3 separate regions of the Homo sapiens genome follow, and all the other regions are linked to region 1. Evidence: promoter capture Hi-C in 16 types of primary human blood cells and fetal thymus (Javierre and others, 2016). All regions are on one chromosome and are shown on one strand. The core of a region is centred on a gene start or on the middle of the fragment in contact, and the rest is flanking DNA. Distances in the headings are between cores, read along the strand shown. Region 1 holds the start of SLC25A11 (solute carrier family 25 member 11). Region 2 overlaps LOC105371501 (a long non-coding RNA gene). Region 3 overlaps MINK1 (misshapen like kinase 1).

The links. The method cuts DNA at HindIII sites, captures the fragments that hold promoters and counts their contacts. A CHiCAGO score of 5 or more calls a contact.
Region 2: a fragment that was not itself captured here is called in contact with the fragment with the promoter of SLC25A11 in region 1 in 7 of 17 cell types (M1 macrophages, M0 macrophages, total B cells and 4 more); the score reaches 10.6 in M1 macrophages.
Region 3: a contact is called between a fragment that was not itself captured here and the fragment with the promoter of SLC25A11 in region 1, in 1 of 17 cell types (erythroblasts). The highest score is 5.1, in erythroblasts.

What each region holds. Positions count from the first base shown.
Region 1 is chr17:4,938,796-4,943,260 of GRCh38, reverse strand. SLC25A11 (solute carrier family 25 member 11) reads left to right here and starts at 3,215. Exons shown (of 8, transcript NM_003562.5): 1 at 3,215-3,445; 2 at 4,049-4,201; 3 at 4,286-4,465. The coding sequence starts at 3,351. It overlaps RNF167 (ring finger protein 167), which reads right to left and starts at 2,993. Exons shown (of 10, transcript NM_015528.3): 1 at 2,901-2,993; 2 at 2,268-2,774; 3 at 2,104-2,184; 4 at 795-920; 5 at 597-684; 6 at 320-410; 7 at 1-82. The coding sequence starts at 2,351. RefSeq lists enhancers at 2,086-2,215, 3,096-3,165, 3,882-4,407, 4,408-4,465 and silencers at 2,549-2,743, 3,306-3,375. The HindIII fragment of the contact is 8,197 bases long and covers 1-4,465 here.
Region 2 is chr17:5,049,702-5,054,166 of GRCh38, reverse strand. It overlaps LOC105371501 (a long non-coding RNA gene), which reads right to left. Exons shown (of 4, transcript XR_002958101.2): 4 at 785-1,048. Among named protein-coding and RNA genes, the nearest start is that of SLC52A1, 17 kb to the right of the region's middle. The HindIII fragment of the contact is 193 bases long and covers 2,228-2,420 here.
Region 3 is chr17:4,836,317-4,840,781 of GRCh38, reverse strand. All of the region lies in intron 1 of MINK1 (misshapen like kinase 1), which reads right to left. Among named protein-coding and RNA genes, the nearest start is that of MINK1, 5.2 kb to the right of the region's middle. The HindIII fragment of the contact is 1,041 bases long and covers 2,173-3,213 here.

The DNA of each region.
Region 1 (4,465 bases), core at 1,966-4,465:
CAGCAGTCCCACAATCCCTGTGAAAGGGATGAGGTAATAGCCCAAGGGGAAGGTATTGTCTGGAACCAGAAGCACCCGAGCCCTGGGAAAAGGATGACCAGTCTCAGCAGGGCGAGAAAGGCAAAGGGAGAAAAAAAGAGGGACAAAGTAACTGGCTCTGGACAAAGCCCATAGGTGGGGACAGGAATGGGAAGAAAGTCAAAGAGGCAGGGAAGGAAGGACAGGAGGCTGAATGGTTCGGGTAATGAGGAGGCCTGGGCTCCAGGTTGGCATGGAACTGCTTGCTGAAGGAAGAATGGGAAGGAGGCACATGTCCTACCCCTTCTCGTAGACAAAGAGGGCACGCAGGTACTCGGAGCTTCTCTCCCCAATAAATACAGACGGGATCCAGATCTGCTGCTGGATTTCCTCTGCAGGGATCAAGGTGTTACTCTGGGGACTCACAACCTTCTACTCAAATCCTCTGGGAACCCTGGCATCTTGCACTTTGGCCCCACCCCACCTAAAGGATTGGCTTCTTTTCCTGAGGCCTTCAGCCTTCCCACCATCTCTGGGTCCTACTGAAAGCCCAGCTGTATAGATTCCCCCAGCCTTACCACTATTCCACACCATGTTCAGAAGTTCATTGGAATTCACATTGTGTACTACAGCGGCACCATATCCAGCCTTCTGGGCATTTAGGACCTAGGGAGACAAGGCAGAGGACAAGGAGCCATCATGGGCCTTACCTGTCTTCATTCCTGGTGCCTTTTTTTTACCCTCAGCTGCCCAGCTCCCCTTCCTCATTCAGCAACCTTGAGGTCAAAGTTGCAGTCGAATCTTCGAAGCAGCGCAATAAAGACTGACCCATTGACCGGGGCTGGGGGTGGTGGGGCAATGGGGCTGCAGGCATTGTCTGGGTGAGCCTCCACAAGGAACCCCTGAAGGATGGAAGCAAACAACAGTGAGATTTCTCCTTTCTAGATTCTGCTCTCTACAGGGGCCACCAAACACACCAGCCCACATGCTGCACATCCTCTATCCTCACTTCCTCCTCCTTCCTGGGGTCTGAGTGAGCATCCCACCATCACAACCTTCTCTTAGCCTCTTGAAAAGGCAATGACATAAAACATCCCTTCACCAAACTCTCCCATCATCCCTCTCGCTGTCCCAGATGGGCTAATCTGTACCCTATACTGCAAGCTAATGCAATTATTTTTGCCTTCTAATATTCCAATTGTAATTCAATTCTCAAACCACCCATGTCACTTTCTCTCAAGTTCTGTTTCACAGTCCCCTCTCCAGCACATACTCATACAGACACACTCCCCTCCCTTCAGTTTTCTTTTTGTTTTTCTTTTTTTTGAGATGGAGTCTCGTTTTGTCACCCAGGCTGGAGTGCAGTGGCGCGATCTCGGCTCACTGCAACCTCCACCTTCCGGTTTCAAGTGATTCTCCTGCCTCAGCCTCCCAAGTAGTTGGGACTACATGCGTGCACCATCACGCCCAGCTAATTTTTGCCATTTTAGTAGAGATAGGGTTTCTCCATGTTGGCCAGGCTGGTCTTGAACTGGGATTACAGATGTGAGCCACCGCGCCCGGCCTCTTCAATTTTCTAATTACCCATCTCACAAACAACTCGACTGCTACTAAGGCCCAACTGAGTTCTTGCTATGTGGCAGTCTTTGGGATGAAATACTACCAAAATTGCGTATCTACTTTGATCTTCACAATAACCCTAGGAAAACTTCTAATATCCCATTTTACAGTAAAACAAACTAAGGCTCAGAGAGATTAACTTGCCCAAAGTCATATAAGCAATAACTAGCACCTGAGACCTTCCTGATAAGGACCGTTGATCCTGCCTTCTGTCTTCGTCCACTTTCAGTCTCCCTGATAACCTCGGAGTTCCAGGGGTGGACACTCTGTCTTCTCCCTCTAGATTCTGGGTTCTACACTAGACGTGCTCAGTTCCTAACTTCATTTTCCTACCTCCAGTTTCACCCAGGACAAACCTCCCCAACCCCAGCCTAGGATGGAGGATCTTGCGAAATACTAAAAAAAGAAAAAAGACAGAAAAGGAAGGAAGGGAGGGAAGGAGGAAAAGAAAAGAAAGAAAATCACCTGGAGGCCCTCCTGGCTCAAGGTAGCCCCAAACAGAGCTGGAAGGTCTGCAAAGTCCATGCTGGCATTGTGGTCCGAGGTCTGCGGACAAAAAAGGCGATGTTCCCCTTCAGCCTGCAACCCTTCCTTTCAGCGCCCTTTCCCCATCCGTCCCTCAGACTCACCGCTCGAATGAGCCCCCGGGTCGGGGCCGCTCCCCACAGCACAGCGGCCACAACCACAGGAAGCGGGAAGGCTGCAGGGTGCATGGCAGCGGGAGGAAAGAGGCTGAGGAGGCCGCGCGTCCTGGTAGCAAGGAGCAGAAGCGGAGTTCTGCGCCCTCCCTGCCCCTCCTTTAGGATCCCAGGGGTCCAACCACCCCCAGGTCCCACTTCCCAGCTACATGGGGGCGCCGGGGAAGGAACACCAACTCAAAGAATGAGATATCCAACCCGTTTAGTGGAGCTGGGTGGGAGGCACTAAATGTATCCTTTTCTGGTACGGGGATAAAACGCGGAAAGGGGACGGAGCCTAACACAGGTGACAGAAAAACTTCGGGAAGGGTGGCGGAGCTCAAGGAGGTGGGACTTCCTGCTAGGTGGGCCGTGTTCCCAGCCTCTGGAAAAGGGCTTCCGGTAGAGAAAATCAGGCCGCTTTCAGCATTGGATGCTTGAGATGAAGGACTTCCGGTCCTAAAAGGCCGGTTAAAAAAAGGTTAGCGATGGAGGGACTGCCTGTGGAGATGGAAGGGGCACTGGTGGCCCAGAAGACGACCTAATAAAAGTGCCCGGAAACCCGGAGCCTCCTAGTTTACAAACCTCTCCTCCCTCTGGCCTCCGCCGCTCCTTCAAATCTCGCGAGAGTGCTCACCACCTCTCCCGTCCCCTCGCAGCTGAATAGTTGCTGTGTCTATCGCGAGAGCGCTCCAACTTGGCGAGCCGTACTCACTCGATCTCGCGAGACCTTCAAACAAACTCTTCTCTATTTTCCCGCGATTCTAATTCGGTGAAAACAGCGCCTTTCCTCTGGTTTCCAAATCAGTTACGCCCCTTCTCGCACGCTTCCATCAAGCTCCTCCTTCAGCTCCGCCTTACTCCCGGCCGCCTTTGCGCTGCGCGCCTGCGCCCGCGCCGGCTTCCAGCGGGTGTCGGACCTGAGAGCTGGAGGGGCGTGCGCGCGCCCTCGCTCTGTTGCGCGCGCGGTGTCACCTTGGGCGCGAGCGGGGCCGCGCGCGCACGGGACCCGGAGCCGAGGGCCATTGAGTGGCGATGGCGGCGACGGCGAGTGCCGGGGCCGGCGGGATAGACGGGAAGCCCCGTACCTCCCCTAAGTCCGTCAAGTTCCTGTTTGGGGGCCTGGCCGGGTAAGCTCAGGCCCCAGGGATGGGAAAAGAGGAGGAAGGGAAGGGCAAAAGGAACCGGGCCCGGTTCATCTCTGGGTCTGTTGCAGTGAACTGTGCCGGCACGGGGTCAGCGCGATCTCCAGCGTATTGCGAGTTCCCCGATGGGCTGCTAGGGCCCCATTGCAGGACCCTTATGGACTGCATGCAGGGTCGTTGCACAACCCCCGCCGGGCCAGCTGAGTTTCCCAGCGCATTGCTAAGCTCGGCCGGGCGGCAGGGGGTTCCAGGCCATTAAATGGCTCCTGCAGGACTACCTGGAGTCCTAAATCTTGGATGCCCCTTCCTCCCCTCCCTGTGTCGGACTGCGTGCAGCCCCAGGTCACTGCTTGACTGTCATGAAGCTGCTTGGAGCACTTTCATTGCATGGCCCCTACTGGACAACTAGACTTTTCAGACCCGTTGCACTTGGTGTACATATAGACTCTTATACACATGCTCACCAGCATCCTGATTCTTGAATCGCATGGCAGGCCCTGACCTTTGTAACCTCTTGCTGCCAGGCTCCAGTGGGCACTGGTAGATCTGGAATGCCTGGCCCTTCACTCCACCTCTGTCTTCCCCCAGGATGGGAGCTACAGTTTTTGTCCAGCCCCTGGACCTGGTGAAGAACCGGATGCAGTTGAGCGGGGAAGGGGCCAAGACTCGAGAGTACAAAACCAGCTTCCATGCCCTCACCAGTATCCTGAAGGCAGAAGGCCTGAGGGGCATTTACACTGGGTATTGGGGCCTCAGGATGGAGGGTAGACTGTGGGTTGGCAGCTCTAGACCTTGGCCTGATATGCTGACCCCTCTGCTCCTCAGGCTGTCGGCTGGCCTGCTGCGTCAGGCCACCTACACCACTACCCGCCTTGGCATCTATACCGTGCTGTTTGAGCGCCTGACTGGGGCTGATGGTACTCCCCCTGGCTTTCTGCTGAAGGCTGTGATTGGCATGACCGCAGGTGCCACTGGTGCCTTTGTGGGAACACCAGCCGAAGTGGC
Region 2 (4,465 bases), core at 1,075-3,574, 110 kb before region 1:
GGTCAGGAGTTCGAGACCAGCCTGAGCAACATGGTGAAGCCCCGTCTCTACTAAAAAAAAAAAAAAAAAAAAAAAAAAAAAATTAGCCAGGTGTGGTGGTGCATGCCTATAATCCCAGCTACTTGGGAGGCTGAGGCATGAGAATTGCTTGAACAGGAGGCGGAGGTTGCAGTAAGCCAAGATCGTGCCACTGCACTCCAGCCTGGGCAAGAGGGAGACTGTCTCAAACAAAAAAAAAAAAAAGAAAAGAAAAGTATTCTCAGGTGCCAAGCCGAGTGTACCAAATGCAAATGCTGTAAGAGGAAAGAAATCAGTGTGGGCTGAGCAAATGGGAGCTCCAGAATATCTGTTGAATGAACAAGCTGTTAGGACTTGCTGGCTGTAACTATAATCAAATAAAAGAAGCAAGGAGTCAAAAAGGACACGGTTTGAGCCGGGATGACTGGAAAGTCAGGGTACTACTGGCAGGTGAGAAAGTTGGGTTGGGCAGGGCATATTAGGTTTCAGGCATATTAACATAACTTCTGCTGGGCGTGGTGGCTCACGCCTGTAATCCCAGCACTTTGGGAGGCCAAGGCAGGCAGATCACCTGAGGTTGGGAGTTCCAGACCAGCCTGACCAAAAATGGAGAAACCTCGTCTCTACTAAAAATACAAAATTAGCCGGGCATGGTGGCAGGCGCCTGTAATCCCAGCTACTCGGGAGGCTGAGGCAGGAGAATCACTTGAACCTAGGAGGCAGAGGTTGTGGTGAGCCGAGATCACGCCATTGCACTCCAGCCTGGGCAACAAGAGTGAAACTCCATCTCAAAAAACAAACAAACAAACAAACAAAAACATAGCTTCTGTGTCTCTGGCTCTTGGCCCCACTCATCAGTGTAGACCCACAAATCCAGACAAAGTACTCACCAGCTATTTGTGCAAACCCCTAAAGGATGTCTTACATGTCCCAGTGAACGAGTCTGGTCATCTGTGGACTGACACCAGCCATTTTCTGCACTTCTTTATTCTCAGGACTCCTTCCGCTGAGTATCAGTTTGTCCTAGCTCCTGGCAACAAATAAATGTCAGGTATTCTTCCTCTGTTCCAAACCTTTCAAAGCTGTAGAGAAGCTGTTATTATAGAGTTATAAAATATTAATGCCACAAGAAACTTAAAAATCAGCCAGTCCAAGCCCCTCATTTAGCAGTTGCCCAAAATGAGGCACAAAAATCCGGAGACCTCCTCGTGGCTTGGTGTAGTGTCCAAGCTGAGATCTGACCAGCACTTTGGGAGGTCATGGCAGGAGGATCACTTGAGCCAGGAGTTCCAGATCAGTCTGTGCAACATGGCAAAACCCTGTCTCTACAAAAATTAGCTGGTTGGCTGGGTGCAGTGGCTCACACCTGTAATCCCAGCACTTTGGGAGGCTGAGGTGGGCGGATCACCTGAGGTCAGAAGTTTGAGATCAGCCTGGCCAACATGGTGAAACCCCATCTCTACTAAAAATACAAAAACTAGCCAGGCATGGTGGCACATGCCTATAGTCCCAGCTACTCGGGAGGCTGAGGCAGGAGAATCCCTTGAACCTGGGAGGAAGAGGTTGCAGTGAGTTGAGATCGTACCATTGGATTCCAGCCTGGGCAACAGAGTGAGATCCTTCTAAACAAAAAAATAGCTAGATATGGTAATGCAACGCCTGTAGTCCCAGCTACTTGGGAGGCTGAGGTGGGAGGATTGCCTGAGCCTGGGAGGTCGAGGCTGTGTTGACTAATGATCACGCCACCGTACTCCAACCTGGGCAACAAGAGCGAGACTCAGTCTCAAAAAAAAAAAAAAAAAAAAAAAAAATCTGTAGTCCTGTTGCCCTTTATTCACTTGGCTTATAGGTGTTATTTTGTCTTTCATTTTCTTTTCTTTTTTTCTTTTTTTTTTTTTTTTTTTTTGAGACGGAGTCTCGCTCTTGTTGCCCAGGCCAGAGTGCAGTGGCGTGATCTCAGCTCACTGCAGCTTCTGCCTCCCTGATTCAAGCGATTCTCCTGCCTCAGCCTCCCGAGTAGCTGGGGTTACAGGCGCCCACCACCACGCCCGGCTAATTTTTGTATTTTTAGTAGAGACAGGGTTTCACCATGTTGGCCAGGATGGTCCCGAAGTCCTGACCTCAGGTAAGCGACCCGCCTCGGCCTCCCAAAGTGCTGGGATTACAGGCCTGAGCCACGGTGCCTGGCCTATCTTTCATTTTCAAAGCTTGTTTTTGAGTGGTGGCATGGGGCACACCCCTGTACTGCTAATGCAAAGGAATATTAGAATCACCATTTGTGAAAGAAACTTGGCAGTCTGTTACAAGAGCCTCAGCTATGTCATACAGTTTCACCCAATAATTCTATTTCAAGAGACTTATCCAGGAAAAAAAAAAAAAAAAAGACCAAAATAAGAAAAGCTTTGTAATGAGCCCTTGTTGCTTTTACCTACCCAGTGCCTCTGTTCCTCTTCTGGTAACTGAATTCCTCCTTCATCTACCAATTTATAGCAGCAGGGTTTGAGATTCTTTCACTGAATTCCAACCAATCAAATTATCTGAAAAGTATTATTTTTCTTTTTTCAGACAGGGTCTCGCTCTTTCACCCAGGCTGGAGCACGGTGGTGTGACCCCAGTTCACTGAAGCCTCAACCTCCTGGGCTCAAGGGATCCTCCCACCTCAGCCTCCTGAGTAGCTGGGACTATAGGTGCACATCAGCATGCCCAACTAAATTTTATTTTTTGTAGAGATGGGGTTTCGCCATGTTGCTTGGGCTGGTCTCGAACTCCTGGGCTCCTGCGATCCGCCCATCTCAGCCTCCCAGAGTGCTGGGACTACAGGCATGGGCCATTGCACCTGGCCTTTAAAATATTCTTTTCTTTTCAAGTGAGAAATGGTATCCTACTGATGTCTTAATTTGCCTTTCTTTGATATATACAGTCAGGGAGAGCATCTTTTCCACATGTCTATTGGCCATGTGTATTTCCCATGAAATATTTCATACCACCCCCCTCACCATTTTACAATATGATCTTTATCAATGTCACAGTGATAGGATATGTCTCTAACCTGTATCTTTTATTTTCTTTCTTTCCTTTTTTTTTTTTTTGATACGGAGTTTTCCTCTTGTCGTCCAGTCTGGAATGCAATGACATGATCTCGGCTCACCACAATCTCCGCCTCCCGGGTTCAAGCAATTCTCCTGCCTCAGCCTCCCGAGTAGCTGGGATTACAGGCATGTGCCACCATGCCCGGCTAATTTTGTATTTTTAGTAGAGACAGGGTTTCGCCATGTTGGTCAGGCTGGTCTCGAACTCCTGACCTCAGGTGATCCACGCCCCCTTAGCGTCCCAAAGTGCTGGGATTACAGGCACGAACTACTATGCCTGGGATTAACCTGTATCTTTTGACTTATTAACTTGTCTGTGCTTACTGGAGTGGCACTCTGAGCTGAGCCTGGACAGGTGAGACTATTTCTAGAGGTTTGTCTATTCTATATATTTCATATAAACAGGATCATACAATATGTTGGAATTGCATCTTTATGTCTCTTTTCAGTAGTCCAATGGCACAATCTCAAAAACAGTCTAACTTCTGAACTTTTGCATACTGTTTGTTTGTGTTCTTCACATCTGGATTTGGCGTTCCCACGCTGGAATGCTGTTTGGGGGGATGATACGCAATCTTCTCTCAGTCTCCATGGTAATCGCTCTGAACTCACCGCCCAGCTGTAGGGCAGCGCTTGCATGTGATCATGATAAACTGCAATATGCATTCAACTGAAATAGAAAAGCAGCTCAAGGATGCACAGCGAAGCTGTGGTTTTTTTTGTTTTTGTTTTTGTTTTTTTGTTTTTTTTTGAGACGATGTTTTGCTCTTGTCGCCCAGGCTGGAGTGCAATGGCAAGATCTCGGCTCAGTGCAACCTCCGCCTCCCAGGTTCAAGTGATTCCATGCCTCAGCCTCCTGAATAGCTGGGATTACAGATGCCTGCCACCACACCCGGCTAATTTTTGTATTTTTAGTAGAGACGGGTTTTCACTGGTCTCGAACTCCTGACTTCAGGTGATCCACCTGCCTCGGCCTCCCAAAGTGCTGGAATTACAGGTTTGAGCCACCGCATCTGGCCTGCAGTGAAGCTTTCTAAGTCTATCTTTTCCTTTCTCCTTTCCTTCCTCGTGTCCCAAAGGCAGGAATATGCCCCTCCTCTTGAAGTTCCTCTGATTGTCCAGTCCTCCACGGAAAATCTTATTATTTGTTTATCAGACCAGAAGCAAAATAAATGCCCTTGAAAGGTGACAAGCAACAGCGTGAGGAGGACCTCGCTTGCCCAGGCAGCTTCCTCCAATCCCACCCTTGCCCCACACCAGAACAGAGGATAATTTCAGCACCCGTGCCTGGGAAGACACCCAAAATGAGTGTCTGTAGTTTGTCCCCTCTTTGAAAGAATGCAGGGCTTGAGAAGGCT
Region 3 (4,465 bases), core at 1,444-3,943, 100 kb after region 1:
AAAATCAGTAACACTCCCCCTCCACACCCCACTCATCCTTTACTTGTATACAATGTAAATGGAGAGTCTTGTCTATTTATATACACTATCTATCCAATGTTAGAAAGAATCCCACTTCCCACAGACCATGCAGCTAAGCTGAGGGCTGGGCCTACTTGTTCTTATTTCCGTGAGACTCACCTACCTTCCAAACTCCAGGCACCCCTTAGGCTAATAACATCTAGGGATACACCCTCCTCTCTCATATACCCCATTCTGAGGAGCCACATCTAAACTACAGACCCAGGACCCAGAGTCCCTCCCCCAGTAAGTAAAAATGAGGATTATATGAGTCATAAGCTCTTTCCATATACATGCTCTTAACTTTTGAGACAAACAAATAAACCATTTTTTTTCCCCTCCCACAGGAAGATTCAGAAGAAATCCTTTTGGAATTAAGCCTGGAGTTTCCACCCCATCCTCAGGCTTCTTGCCCTCAATTGTTGACCAAATGCTTCACCATAAGAATGGCCCCATTCCAGAGTCTCCCAATTCTCACCATCACCAAACTCTACCTGCTGGTTCAACTCTATCTCATCTTTCTGCAGCAATGCCAGTTTAGCTTTCTGACATGATTTACGTCTCTCTCAATCAACTAGATATTTTTGTCTTATAAAAGTTTTGTCTCGTAAAAGCAATTTTTTTTCCATGACACAGCCCTCAGGAGATCCTGAGAACATATGCTCAAAACAACTCTTGTTATATGTGCCCACGGCATGTTAAAGTTTTCACTACAGTCCTTATCATGGCTTGCAATCACACACACACACACACACACACACACACACACACACACACACACATTAATAAATAATTACTTGATTAATGTCTCTCCCTACTACTAGACTGTATCACCACTGTGTCCTCTGTGCCTAGTTCTAGATCTTTCCTCAAACAGAACACAAAATCCTACCCACACGTAGCACGTACAACCTCAGGCTGTCTAGCCACTGGACAAAATCTCCAGGGGCTCTCTTGGGTCACTACAATTCCATCCCTCTTTTCTCTCCTCCCTTTACTATTCCCGCCCTTAGTAAGAACAAAGAGCCTCAAAACCCTTTTTCCATTACCCCCTAGAAGAGCTTCCTATAGATAAGAGAAGCCCAGTCTCAAGTCAAGGACTGGTTGGTTCGGAGGAGAATGGCAAAAGAACTGGAGAGAGCAAATGGCCGTGAGCTGTGGACAGGATCCAAGTCTTCTACCAAGTCACGTTTTTGTATCTTACTATACTCTGTGTGAATTCAAGAAATGCTTTGAGAGTTGACTTATTAACCTGATCACTTTTGTTCTGTCTTCAATCCAGGAAAGAGAAGACTGAGACAGATAGTAGTAAAAAGTAGGTGTCGAAGGGAGTGGGGCTGAAGACCAGGTTTCAAGATGACTGCCCACTGACCACAGAAAATGAGTGTAATTCATGGAAATCAGGTTTAACAAAAATGTCCCAACCTTGAAGGTTGCAGGATATTGAGGAAAACAGTAACAGTTAAGAAAAAGAGTCTAGGCCGGGCACGGTGGCTCGCGCCTGTAATCCCAGCACTTTGGGAGGCTGAGGCGGGCAGATTACAAGGTCAGGAGATCAAGACCATCCTGGCTAACACGGTGAAACCCCGTCTCTACTAAAAATACAAAAAATTAGCCAGGCATTGTGGCGGGCGCCTATAGTCCCAGCTACTCGGGAGGCTGAAGCAGGAGAATGGCGTGAACCTGGGAGGTGGAGCTTGCAGTGAGCCAAGATCGCGCCACTGCACTCCAGCCTGGGCGACAGTGCGAGACTGCGTCTCAAAAAAAAAAAAAAGAGTCTAGGCTTGGAAAGGCATTGCTTTGCTTGGGTGGATGTCCCCAGAGATCTGGTTAAATAGCTTAGTAGAGGACTGAGTACTATATTACATCCTTTCCATAGAATCTGGAACCTGATTCTCAATACATAGACTGCCAATGCTTGGCGACTGACTGGTGGAGGACAGGGGATTATTGATAACTTTCTCTGATTCAACTTTGTCTGGAGACAGAAATATTAGACAGGCAGACTCTCACCGGCTTCTGGAGATGTTCTCCAGTCCAGAATTGCTTTATGTTTCTGGGTTGAGAGGTTACTGCATGCCTTATCTACAGACCTACACCAGAATACAAGCTTATCAAGAGCGGCTGCACACTTCCTGCCATCATGTCCCCTAAATGACAAACAAAGATGGTTTACATGTGCAAGTTGTGTGTGCTACCCTGTCTTAGGCACACAGTTCAATGCGGAAAGGAATGGAGGCCAGATGTGAAGTCAGGATTCTACCCAGCAGAGTTTTAATTGAGCTCCTGGGGCAAGAGTGAGGGGGTGGGCCAGCTGGCTCTCTTGCTGACCTTACTGTTATCTTAACTGTCAAAACCTCCCTGCTGTGTATATCCCTAAGGACTATGGCAAACTGTCCTATCCCATAGCATAAAGGGTGGGGATGTCTCTCCCTCTGTTTGGGGAATGACTGATCACCTAGTTTCAGCCAAGTTCTCAGTAATCTTCCTTCCGTCATTTTGCCAAGGCAGCATTTCACTTCATCTAAATGCCTCGAGCTCTCCAAACAGCCCCATTCCCCTTTTGCAATTTTCCAGGGGAAAAAAGTCACTATTGAATGTCCTTACTTCTGCAGCAGGAGGTCACTCTTCCCATTCTCCTGCCTAAGGCATCTGTCATCAACATTTGGACAGCTAGCACATCAGAACACAGAGGCAGTCCCACGTTGCTCAGCAGCCTAGAAATACATGCCCAGAACTGCCAGCTTTCCGAGTGGTGCTGGCTCCACAGCCGCATGAAGAGAGGAGGAAGGCGAAGACACTTATCCAAAGAACAGACACAACAACACAAAATCATTTGAAAAAGAACATCTCTGTCAGCAGCTACCACCGAGCAACAAGTCCTCCTTGAATGTGCTCCATGCTATGATTTCAATCCAGCGACGCTAAGCATAGCTCCACAGTTTCAAGGACACTGCAGTCAAACTTCGAGCTGGATGGTAAAAAGAAGCTGTTTGATTTACGAAGTGGGTCAACCAAAAGGAGCAATGCAAAAGGAAAGAGGTCAGGCCGGGGCCTGCCCCCTCCTTGTCCCATCCACTTCCACTGATATTTATCCTTTGTGAGAAGCCAAGAGTTCCAAGTCAGAAGGTTCTCCTGGAATATAACCAAGCTTAGACACAGAGGCCCACATTTTCTCTTGGATGATCCTAACTTTACTTCAAGGGCATCGCTCAGCTGGAGGCTTCCAGAACTGTTTACCCCAGACAAGGTCTGATTCTAAAAACATCCCAGAAAAAATATATTCTTAATTGTGCATAAATAAAAGAGGGGCAAAATGAAGCCTAAGAAGCCTGGGGTTTATTGAATACTTTCTCTAAGCAAGCACTGCACTGTGTTGTAAGTGGCACGTGTTGTAAGAGGCACTTCTGCAACAAACGTTTGAGCCCCCATTATGTGCAAAACATGCTTACAGGCACTGGGGATACAAAAATGAACAAAACAGCCAAAATCTTAGCTTTCACCGAACTGTTTGTTGTAGTTGTTGTTGTTGTTTGAAACAGAGTCTGGCTTTGTCGCCCAAGCTGGAGTGCAGTGGTGCAATCTTGGCTCACTGCAGCCTCCACCTCCAAGGTTCAAGTGATTCTCCTGCCTCAGCCTCCCGAGTAACTGGGATTACAGGTGTGCGCCACCATGCCTGGCTAATTTTTTTGTATTTTTTTTTTAGTAGAGATGGGGTTTTACCATGTTGGCCAGGCTGGTCTCGAACTTCTGACCTCTCAGGTGATCCATCTGCCTCGGCCTCCCAAAGTGCTGGGATTACGGTCGTGAGCTACCACACCCGGCCACTGAACTGACATTTTAGTGGGGCTGACAGGAATATATATGTCAGCTGGTGATAAATACTATGAGGAAGGATAAAGCAGACTAAGGGAATGCTATATAAAATTTTGTATAAAAATAAAGCAGAGGAGGGAGTGCTATTTTAGATAAAGTTGTCCTGGAAGGCTTCTCTGATTGCCATTTGATAAAAATAACTGCAAAAAGGGCTATCACATATATGATCACTGTGTGCTGGGAACTGTACTATGTACTTAACGTGCATTTAATCCTCAGCAACTCTGCATTCAGTACTATTACCATGCCCACGATACAGGACTGAATGAAGCTTAGAGAGGGTAAGGCTCTTGGCAGAATCTGCAGTAAGGGGAGCAGGGCCAGGGTTACATTGTAAGGGAAGAAACTAGGACTTGAACTCAGGGCTGCAACTTCAAACCACATGCTTTTCCTCACCACGCTGCAGCCAGGCTGGTGGAGAAAAGGAACCTCAAAGAGGTCAAGTGTGGCTGTGGCTACAAAGTAGCAGGTCCATCTGGCCTCCCCACACATGGCTAAGAGATTAACGCAATTCAATCTTCCCTAATAT